3 separate regions of the Homo sapiens genome follow, and all the other regions are linked to region 2. Evidence: promoter capture Hi-C in human tissues and cell types (Jung and others, 2019). All regions are on one chromosome and are shown on one strand. The core of a region is centred on a gene start or on the middle of the fragment in contact, and the rest is flanking DNA. Distances in the headings are between cores, read along the strand shown.

Region 1 (3,146 bases), core at 185-2,684, 65 kb before region 2:
AGCTACTAAATGGTTGAGCCAAGACCTGGGTCAGATCATCTGACTTCAAGTTTAGTGAACTTTCCCTAAAAATAACAATGTAATTATTTTATATTATAATAAAATTAATTTATATTATATAATCCGGCCAGGCACGGTAGCTCACACCTGTAATCCCAGCACTTTGGGAGGTCGAGGCAGGTGGATCGCTTGAGGTCAGGAGTTCGAGACCAGCCTGGCCAACCTGGTGAAACCCCTGTCTATACTAAAAACACAAAAATTAGCTGGGCATGGTGGTGGGCACCTGTAGTCCCAGCTATCTGGGAGGCTGAGGCCCGAGAATCAGTTGAACCCGGGAGATAGAGGTTGCAGTGGGCCAAGATCGTACCACTGCACTCCAGCCTGGGTGACAGAGTGAGACCCAGTCTCAAAAAATAATACTACTACTAATAATTAAAGTTTATTATATAATCCTATATAATATATCTTAATATAATTATCAATATAACTAACATATAATTCACTATATATTAAATAAATAACAATATAACAATGACTGAGTCCCTACGATGTATAAAAATTTTTCATGCATTTTTAAATTGGCTATATGGCCTCTAGAGTGATCTGAGGATATAGGCTTTAGAATACTATGTTTGAATCCCAGCTCTGTTCCCCATTAGCTATATGACCTTGATCGACTTAATGAACATCTCTGAGGCTCAATTTTCTCATCCATAAAATAAAAATAATATAATCTGGGCTTATGGTAAGGATTGAATTAAATTAAATTAAAACATTATTTAAAATATTCATAAAATGCCTGGTACAGGGTAGAAGCCCAATCATTATCATTCATGCTCCTAACAAATTTGCATTTACTAAGGAAGAAAGTAACAAATAAAAGTTTAGTAACTTGCCCAGATTTATTCAGCCAATAAGTGGCCAAGTCAGAATCCGAATTCAGATCTGATTCCAAAGCTTATGTTCATTTCACTATTATGTTGCCAGTGTAATTTTGCCTCCAGACATAAATGTCTTTAATATAAATGTCTTTAATAAATGTCTTTAATATTCCTCCATGCACCTGGAACAGGCTACACCTGGAATAGGCTACACATGTAAGAGCTAATCTACACATCTATTAAATGTTAGCAACACTTTTAGACAAGGGGAGGATAGAGAATAGGAACGTTTTGTCTTGTTTTTGTTTTCCTCTTTTTCTGTTCCAATTAATGTACTAAGGATTAAGAGGGAACATAGCTCACTTCCCTCTTTTTCACTGCTCTGTCTTTCTCACTAAAGACAAAAGGATATGGCGCTTCACTACCTAGAAGGTTATGAATCCACACTGTTATCCACAAAGAATCCCTAAGGTTTTTTACTTCCTTTTCAAGTTTAAACCAAGGTTCTTTTCCCAGTTCCCGTGATCTGCCTCAACAGAAGGGACTCAGTGAGTCCCTGCATTTCTGGCATTTCTAGAAGGAAAGGGACAGGACCAGGAGGAGTGAAGGCCCCTGAGTGTGCGTGAGATCAACAGCTGCCTGCTTGGTGGGAACTGAGGGGGGCTGAAAGGATTCTACCCAATCGCTACCCCCGCAAACACACACATCCTCAAATGTCGTCTTGGAGTTAAATATGTATCTATATTCCAGGAAGTCCCTGGGCAAAATGGAGGTAATTTACCCAGAAGGATCATATAATAAGATATTAGAATCCATTAACAGAAAGCCTTGCCTTTTTACTAAATTATTTAGCTGCTCTATTTGGAAACCCTGAAAGGAAAAGAAGCATCATGTATGATAAGGGAATGTCCTATTAGGGAAATATGTTTTACTGAGAGACCCAGATGAGAGGCACATGGGGAACGGGGATTAACCAGGACAACTGTAAATGTCGTACCAAGAGTATTGTGTTGGTAAACAGGCTCTAGGAAGCGAGGGTGGGGGGCTTGATTTATACTCTGCAGATTTCTTCAAGGTAATTATTTCACCATAGCTGATTTCAAACTACCAATGACAAAATTCCTAAATATTTAACAAATGGCCTCCAGGACTGACACAAGCCAGCTCAGGCACATCACTACCAATAATTTTGGAAGGATGAGGTTACTTCCGGCCAATGACAAACAGTGTGACTTTTCAAAGCAGGTGTGTGTTTATCCCTGTCAAGTTCAATATGCTCCCTACCCAACCCCACCCCTCATAGCAGGGCTACAAAGGAATACGTAGAGTTAAGGTGGAGTAACAGCACAAATGAGTGCATGGAAAAACTGGTGAAATCTGAATACAGTCTGCAGTTTGCACGGTCCCAATGGCAGTTTCCTGATTTTGCCATTTTATTCTAGTTACTTAAGTTGTTACCATAGGGAGACGCTAAGTGAAAGGTATGGTGCACTATGTGCTAATTTGCCAACTTACTGTAGAGTTTATAACTATTTTAAGATAAAAAAGCTATATTAAAAAACCCTCAAGCAATATAGGAAAATACGTAGATGACAGCAAAGTTTGCCCCAAAATCATACCACACAGAAATAATCGTGATTATCATTAGGTGGACAGCATTCTAGACATCTTTTGGTGTACATATACAGATAGAAAAGGAAAGAGTTGATGCTACTTTTAGAGAAATAGAGTTCCAAAATAGATTCTATTTTTAAATACATGTAAATAATTTAATTGAACTTAACAGAAGAACCTGATGTTAAACTGTAAGAATCAGTAAACTTCAAATCACACACACACACATATATATTTATACCCATACAGTGGAGTATCAGATTTCATAGATGATGAGACCAGAGCCTGTGGGACCATGTTTTGGCTCTAAAATTAAGGCCTTTAAAATTATAAGTTGAGTTATTGTATTTCCTGTTCTCAGAGACCATAGCGCTAAGAAAGGAGGCATTGAGAGATTCAGCCCACTAAGGTTTCAGAAAAAAAAAATGCAAAAACACTGAACATTAACTTCAAAATGCCTTAGAACCTTGATTGACAACTAGGCTTTTTATATTTGACTTCCTGCTCTGTTTCATTAGCTGAAGCTTTTGACCACACTGTCCTCTTTTTATCTATATCTCGAGGCCACCAATATGATAATACAGTATTAATAAAAAATTAAAATGTTAATTTTGATGTTTTGTCACAGGGTTTACTTTGCTAAATATTTCA
Region 2 (3,139 bases), core at 242-2,741:
TAATGACTGGCACATAGCAATAACTCCATAAACATTTTCTGGTGCTGCTGTCGTTGTTATTGTTATCCTCCATTTGTTCAAAAAGAATGTATCAAGTGCCTGTAGATGTTCTGGGCACAAGATATACAAAGGTGAACTGAACAGACCAGATCTCTGCCTTTATGGAGCTTAGCATGTATGTGTCCATACTTGGGAGGGGGAGTGTTTAGTTCACAAAATAAACAAAGTTCTGTAAGTTGAGCAGAACAGTGAACGGCTGTGCTACCTAGATGGGTGGTAATAGACTACATTCTTGGTGAGGACAGGCCGATCTCTCTTGTTCGACACTGTTGCTCCAGCATCTTGTGAAAGCCATAGTGGGTACCTGATTTATGTTGGTTGACTAAATAAATAAATGGGTGACTTTCTGAGAGGGAGCACAGTTAAATCCGGCACAACAGGTTTTGGGTTTAGGTGGTGTGTGCAGATATGATGTAAGGTATGTAGTTTGCAGGTTCTGTTTATGTGGCAGAGTCGGCGTCAGAGTATACGTGGGTGGACGTGGGGAAGAGAATGAGGTTATGAAAGCACAGATGTACATAAGTAAAGTCTGCATACATCTGAGGTAACATGAAAAGCAAAGTCTTTGGTTGTGTGATTTTTGAAGTAAATCTGGGCTTAGGTGTGAATCTAAGTGTCGGTTCCGACTGAGGTAAACCTGGACTTGTGTCAGTGTGTGAGATTAAAATCTGGGGTTTGTTGTATGAGGGACAGAGCATCAATGAAGAGTGCTTTGCAAGGCAAAACCTAAGAATGTGTGTGTGTGTGTGTGTGTGTGTGTGTGATCTGAAATGAGGCAAATTAGGGGTGGTAAAAAGCAAACTAGGATATTATATAGAAGCTAAGAAAGGGCTTATGTGAGCCAAAGGGCTTTTGTGACTCTCAATGAAGTAAGAGGGCTTCTCTCTCAGTGTGTGTTTGTGTTGTGTGTGTAAGCCAATTCAGGACTTCATGTGAGAGTGTGGGTTTGCAAGGCAGATTCTAGAACTGGGTGTAGTTATGAGTGTCATCCTAAAGATCAGGATGAGGCAAGTCCGGGGTTCCGGGTAGGATTGTGAGTCTGTCGTAAATTTGAGTTTGTATGTGTTAGTTGTAAATCAGGACTTGGCTTTGAGATGAATCCACCTGGGTCAGCTGGGTTTTTGTGCACGAGGGACGTCAGAAAGCTTTGTGTTTGTGAGGCAAACTAGGGAGTTAGTGTGGGTGAAGCAGTCAAGTGCTGGAGTGTGAACATTTCTAAGACGTCTAAATTGCGCGAAAGTGTGTGAGGCAAGGCTGTTGCGCGAGCGGGCAGTGTGCGCCTGTGTGTGCGTGTGCGCGCGCGCCAAGTTTGGTTTGTGATTGTGATGGGCACCGACGCTGCGTCAGCCCGGGAGGCCACGTTAGGGTTGGGGGTGCGTGAGGAGGTGCGGCCGGGCGAGAGGTCCAGCGAGTGAGCCAAGCGCGGCGCTACTCTGGGCCCCTGCTCCGCGCGCTAGCTGGCTGTGTGGCTCGCTGGCTCGCTAGGGACAAGCAGGAATCGGAGCAGCACTGCCGCCTCTGGCGCGAAGGCTCAGGCGCCTCCTCCCGCCACAGTCACTGTGGCTCGGCGCACGCTGCCGGCGGCTGCCCTTTCCGCCTCTGGGGAAGAAAAACCCGCGGGCCGCTTTCGTGCTTGAACCATGGCCTCGGGCCGGAGGGGCTGGGACAGCTCCCACGAAGACGATCTGCCCGTGTACCTGGCCAGGCCGGGCACCACGGACCAGGTCCCGCGGCAGAAATACGGCGGCATGTTCTGCAACGTGGAGGGCGCCTTCGAGAGCAAGACGCTGGATTTCGATGCCCTCAGCGTGGGGCAGCGGGGCGCGAAGACTCCTCGGAGCGGCCAGGGCAGCGACCGAGGATCGGGGAGTCGGCCCGGGATCGAGGGGGACACCCCGCGCAGGGGCCAAGGCCGGGAAGAGAGCAGGGAGCCCGCGCCCGCCTCCCCCGCCCCCGCCGGGGTAGAGATCCGGAGCGCCACCGGCAAAGAGGTGTTGCAGAACCTCGGCCCCAAGGACAAGGTAAGGGGGCCCCGGGTCACTTCCCTCCTTGCCTTCGTTCCTTTCTCCAGCCCTGGCCGCCATGGCCCGGGCACAACTTTCTCCAGCTCACTTTGCACGGGGCTGGGGGACAAGGAGGAGGAAAGGGTCATCCTCCACTGAGCGTAGCGCGACTTCCTAGCCCAGACCCTGGATTCGCGCGTGTCGCCACTTGCAGCATCTTCGTGCAAGCGCGGAAGGGATGCCCGGGTTCCCCTGCCTGGAGCCGCGTCCTTTGCCCCTGCCTCCTCGCCGCACTCCTGGGCCATCCGGTCTGGGTGGGTGTGTCAGCCCGGGAAGGCTTAGTGATTTCCAGCTCTTCTCTCTAGTAGCCAACAGCACAATTGTCTTGCCCCCCTCTGGCCCTAGATTAAATCTCAACCCGGGTCACCACGGCAGAGGGCAAAGTGATGCTGGGAATATGGGGGTCATCTCCATAGTGCCCGGATGAAAGTACTGGAGGGGCGGTCTCCCCTCTCAGTCTTCAAACATCAGCTCTGTCCCTGAAACTTTTGGGTGTGGAGCCTCTAGACTAAACACGCGAATCTCTCTCTATGCCTCGCTTGTGTCTTAGCACGGCATTTCACATCTGTGTTTGTAAAGAGTGTATTTGTGTACATAGCTTGGCACAAGACTGGGTATTACAGGGGTCCAGCTGCCTCTGCAAGAATAGCATTATATTTTAGAAAATAGACGAGAGTATTAAGAGTGCACATTAAACTAGCATGAGATGCAAATTCCCTGCTGCTCTTAAATGTGCCAAAGCCAATTTCTTCTGTATGTGTATTTTTGAGAAACTTATGTCACACTGAACTGACTGAAGGGATGGCATTGAAATCTAGCTTGCCCTGATTTATGTGTCTATTTCACAGAGACTCAGAGATGTAGTTCAGAAAATGCAGGGCCTGGCAGGGCTGGAGACTTCAGAGTTCAAACTGAAGCTTTCAGTTGGGGAATAATAATAATCAGATGCCCTCACCCTTGTCTAGGTAATGGCCGCAAAATCCATCCGCATGTATTATTCTGCACTAATATGGTTA
Region 3 (3,524 bases), core at 150-2,649, 74 kb after region 2:
TCAGGCTAACTGGCACTGATTCATCACTTGAATTCTTGGACTGCTTTAACAATGAGGACCCTCTTTGCACTCCTGTATGATAGACCTAATCTTTGAGGTCTGGACTACAAGGCAGAGCAAACTGGAAGACATCTGTGGTCTTTGAGACAATTCCTTCCTTCCACACTCTCCATGGGGCCCTCTTCATGGCCGCCTGGTGTGACTGGAGCACCACAGCTGAGTGTTCTGTTAGACTTGCACACCACGGACAGTTTTAGGAAGTTACATAAGCCAGTGGTTGTGTGCTTATGACCACAATCCCCAAGAAGCTCCCACAAGCTTTAAAAATACAATGTCAGACTTGAAGAAGAATCCCTGTGGCCTCCACAAATAGATGGGGAGCTATTGCCTGTCATTTGAAGGTGCTTCTCACACATTCCAAGGCCTGAGCCCGCATTCCTCCTCTGGGAGTTGCATTTTGGCGGGCTTTCAGATTTGGTGAAAAGGTTTCTTGTTTCTGAGAAGCAATAGGGTGGGAATTCACTCGACGTCTTTGTCATTGTAAAGGCCCTGTCAAAGCCAGCTGTCAGTCAGAAAAGATGAAAAGAGAGAGCTGCTTCTTAAGAGGGAGCTGGGTACCATTAACGGCACAGCCTCTTGGAAAGGCGAAGGGGATCACAGAACTTTGACCGGAATCCTTGGCTCCCGACTCCCATTCTAGGGATCTTTCCACCCTTCTTTTCTGCCTTTCAGTTGGCACAGCCATTTTCAGCGTGGCATTAACTCAAGCCCGTCCACTAACACCTGACCTTTCTCTTAAATCCCAGGCCACCATTTCAGTGACCTGCTACATTGCTGTATGGTTGACCAGTACCTCAAAATTATTCTTAGTCTTACACTTCAATTTTGTTAGTCCTTTTTCTGTTTCCTGTGTCTATTAATGGGTCCTCTGTAGACATGCTGCTTTAAAACTCAGTCTGGTTTGGCACGTCTGCATCTGCGTCACTTTCCCTTCCTCTTCAGTTACTTAGTTGATTGACACTTTCTTCTGCAGTATGCCATTGCATTTTCTAATCCATATTCTTCCTGTCACACTGGACCACAGCAATTACCACATTCTTTTACTTTTTTATAATTTTCTTTATTAAGTTCCTTTTAAAAGTTATAAAGTACATTACGCATATGCAACTAGAGAAATAATGTAAATAAATAGAAGAGAGAGAAGAAAAAGTTTAAAAGGACCCCTACAACCTCTCTCTGCATCCTTTCCTTCTACAACATCCAATGTTAATAATATGATGTGCATCCTTCTGGAACTTTCTTCCAGATCAGCTCACACAAAAATATAATAAACATATTTACATACAGCATTTTTTGTTTGCTTTGACAAGAACTACATCATATTTTGCATATTGCTCCAGAACTTACTTATTTTAGATATTTCTTCAGTTCATGATATAGATTTAAAGGTGGCCATAATAATCATAATCCATATTTGTGGTGATATCATAGTTTATTAAATCACATCCCATTGTTGGCTATTCAGGGCCTGGGCTGGGTATTTCCTGCTTGCATCCCCAGATATCCTCTCCACCTTTGTCTACCCTGCTCCATACTCCGTGTATGGTGTGCCTTAGTTGGTTTCTTTGCCCTTGGGCTTCTGGTTGCATTTAGCTCTTAGGGCACCAATAGGAGATTAGAGGGAGAGTGAACAATGAAGTCGGGGTATTTTCCCCTGATTCCTTCCTATCACTAGGTCATTGTGGGGCAGCTGCATGTCTCTGCTGAAGGTTACGGCTCCTGCCAGGCAGCCCTCTCCATACAGCTACAGTCTCCACTTCCAATAACCACTCCCTCCCCTTTCCCTCTTCTGGCCTTGGCAATGGCTCCCTGATGCTGGTAGGCCCTGGATGCTGCATATCCATTTATTTGCCCTAAACACTGCCCACACTTTGTTAAGTAATTTCTTTGTTAAATTCTCCTTAATAACTTCTTAATAATTTTATCTGTTTCCTGCTGGCACCCAGCATGCTAAAGGTCTTTTCTTATTTTGTTTTGTTTTTTTTCCCCCTGCCACTTGCTGTTTCTAAGTTTTTCCTTCCTTTATCTCCAGCATGGGCCTCTGTCAGCTTGATTTTTTGACCCTATGATTGACTATTTTACTTATTTTTTGAAGATCCTTCTAGGGCTACTACATAGTAAAGGTCAAACTTCCTAGTTGGCAGCCGTTTGCATCCCTTATTCCAGTATCTTAAGCTTTGGAAGAAGGAGGGTGCCTAACTCCACAATCTCTTATAGAGATGCATTTCTTGCATCGATACCATTGGTTCTCCCAATGATTGGTTGTGTAATATTGGACCATGAGCTAACCTCCCTAAGCTTCCATGTCTTCATCAATGCAATAGGAATGACAGTAGCATATAATTCATAGCACTTGAAGATTGATTGAACAACATGTACTTAAAGCTTCTACCTGTTTTCAGCAAATAAGAAGTTTTCAGTAAATGGTAATTATGAATTATTGTAACACGCTGTGATCATAATTGCCGTTGGCCATACCCACGTGTACAAATCAGCTATTTACCTTAGATTCACTTAGGCAAGGCCTCTGTGGATCCTTTAATCTCTGCCAGACAAAAGATTTTTCTGCCTGCCTCTCTCCTCTCTCTCTCTCTTCCCCCCACCTTTCTTAATTAATAGACTTTGTTTTTTAGAGAAGTTTTAGGCTTACAGAAAAATTGTGCACAAAGTACAGAGAGCTCCCATAGACTCTTTCTCACTCCCTCCTCACCCCCAAGTTTCCTCTCTTATTAACACCTTACATTGGTGTGGTATGCTTGTTACAATAGATGAACCAATATTGATACATTGAAGAGAGTCCAGTTTACATTAGAACTCACTCATTGTTGAGTAGTTCTACGGGTCTTAACAAATGAAAAATGTCATGTGTCTATCATTGCAGTATCGTCTAGGACAGTTTCACTGCTCTGAGCCACTTCAGTGCTCCGCTTACTCACCAGTTCATCCCCTCCCTGTTCCCCTACCCCCCGCCCCAACTGGTAACCACTGATCATTTTACTGTCTTTCTATAGTTTTACTCTTCGTCATTTTAGGTCACATTACTATTTGCGATCCTGGCTTACTTTTCTAACTGTTTTATCTTTACTTCTCTATTCACCTTCTGTATTCAACTTCATGGCTAGTAGTTACACTAGCATATGTTTCAGGAATGAATTATTAAACTCGTTTACCCTTAGAATAAAGACTTAGGTTGAATTTAGGCACTTCTTCCTGATGGAATAGGCATTTGGCTTTTGCACAGGCCCAGGGGCTCAAGGGACAAGAGATCCTGTTTGATTGAAGCTGGATGTCACTTCTCTAGTCCGCATATGTAAGAGAGCTTCCACCCATGGCACGTGTATTTGAGGCCTAAAAAGGAACAATGCAAAGCAAAACAAACAAGTAATAAAACACAAAACTATCATATAAATCCAGACCAAAGAGGGACATGAATTAGCTCTCTAAAGCACTGACTTGGCTTTAAT

What was found. The method cuts DNA at HindIII sites, captures the fragments that hold promoters and counts their contacts. A contact is called where the count stands out against the background at its distance.
Region 1: a fragment that was not itself captured here is called in contact with the fragment with the promoter of DPYSL3 in region 2 in 3 of the 25 tissues and cell types used here (H1 embryonic stem cells, aorta and thymus).
Region 3: a contact is called between a fragment that was not itself captured here and the fragment with the promoter of DPYSL3 in region 2, in 5 of the 25 tissues and cell types used here (H1 embryonic stem cells, IMR-90 fibroblasts, bladder and 2 more).

What each region holds. Positions count from the first base shown.
Region 1 is chr5:147,573,109-147,576,254 of GRCh38, reverse strand. The region is part of intron 1 of JAKMIP2-AS1 (JAKMIP2 antisense RNA 1); the gene reads right to left. Among named protein-coding and RNA genes, the nearest start is that of JAKMIP2-AS1, 15 kb to the right of the region's middle. The HindIII fragment of the contact is 3,633 bases long and covers 1-3,146 here.
Region 2 is chr5:147,508,420-147,511,558 of GRCh38, reverse strand. DPYSL3 (dihydropyrimidinase like 3) reads left to right here and starts at 1,491. Exons shown (of 14, transcript NM_001197294.2): 1 at 1,491-2,081. The coding sequence starts at 1,701. The HindIII fragment of the contact is 5,398 bases long and covers 1-3,139 here.
Region 3 is chr5:147,434,244-147,437,767 of GRCh38, reverse strand. All of the region lies in intron 1 of DPYSL3 (dihydropyrimidinase like 3), which reads left to right. Among named protein-coding and RNA genes, the nearest start is that of DPYSL3, 74 kb to the left of the region's middle. The HindIII fragment of the contact is 4,116 bases long and covers 1-3,457 here.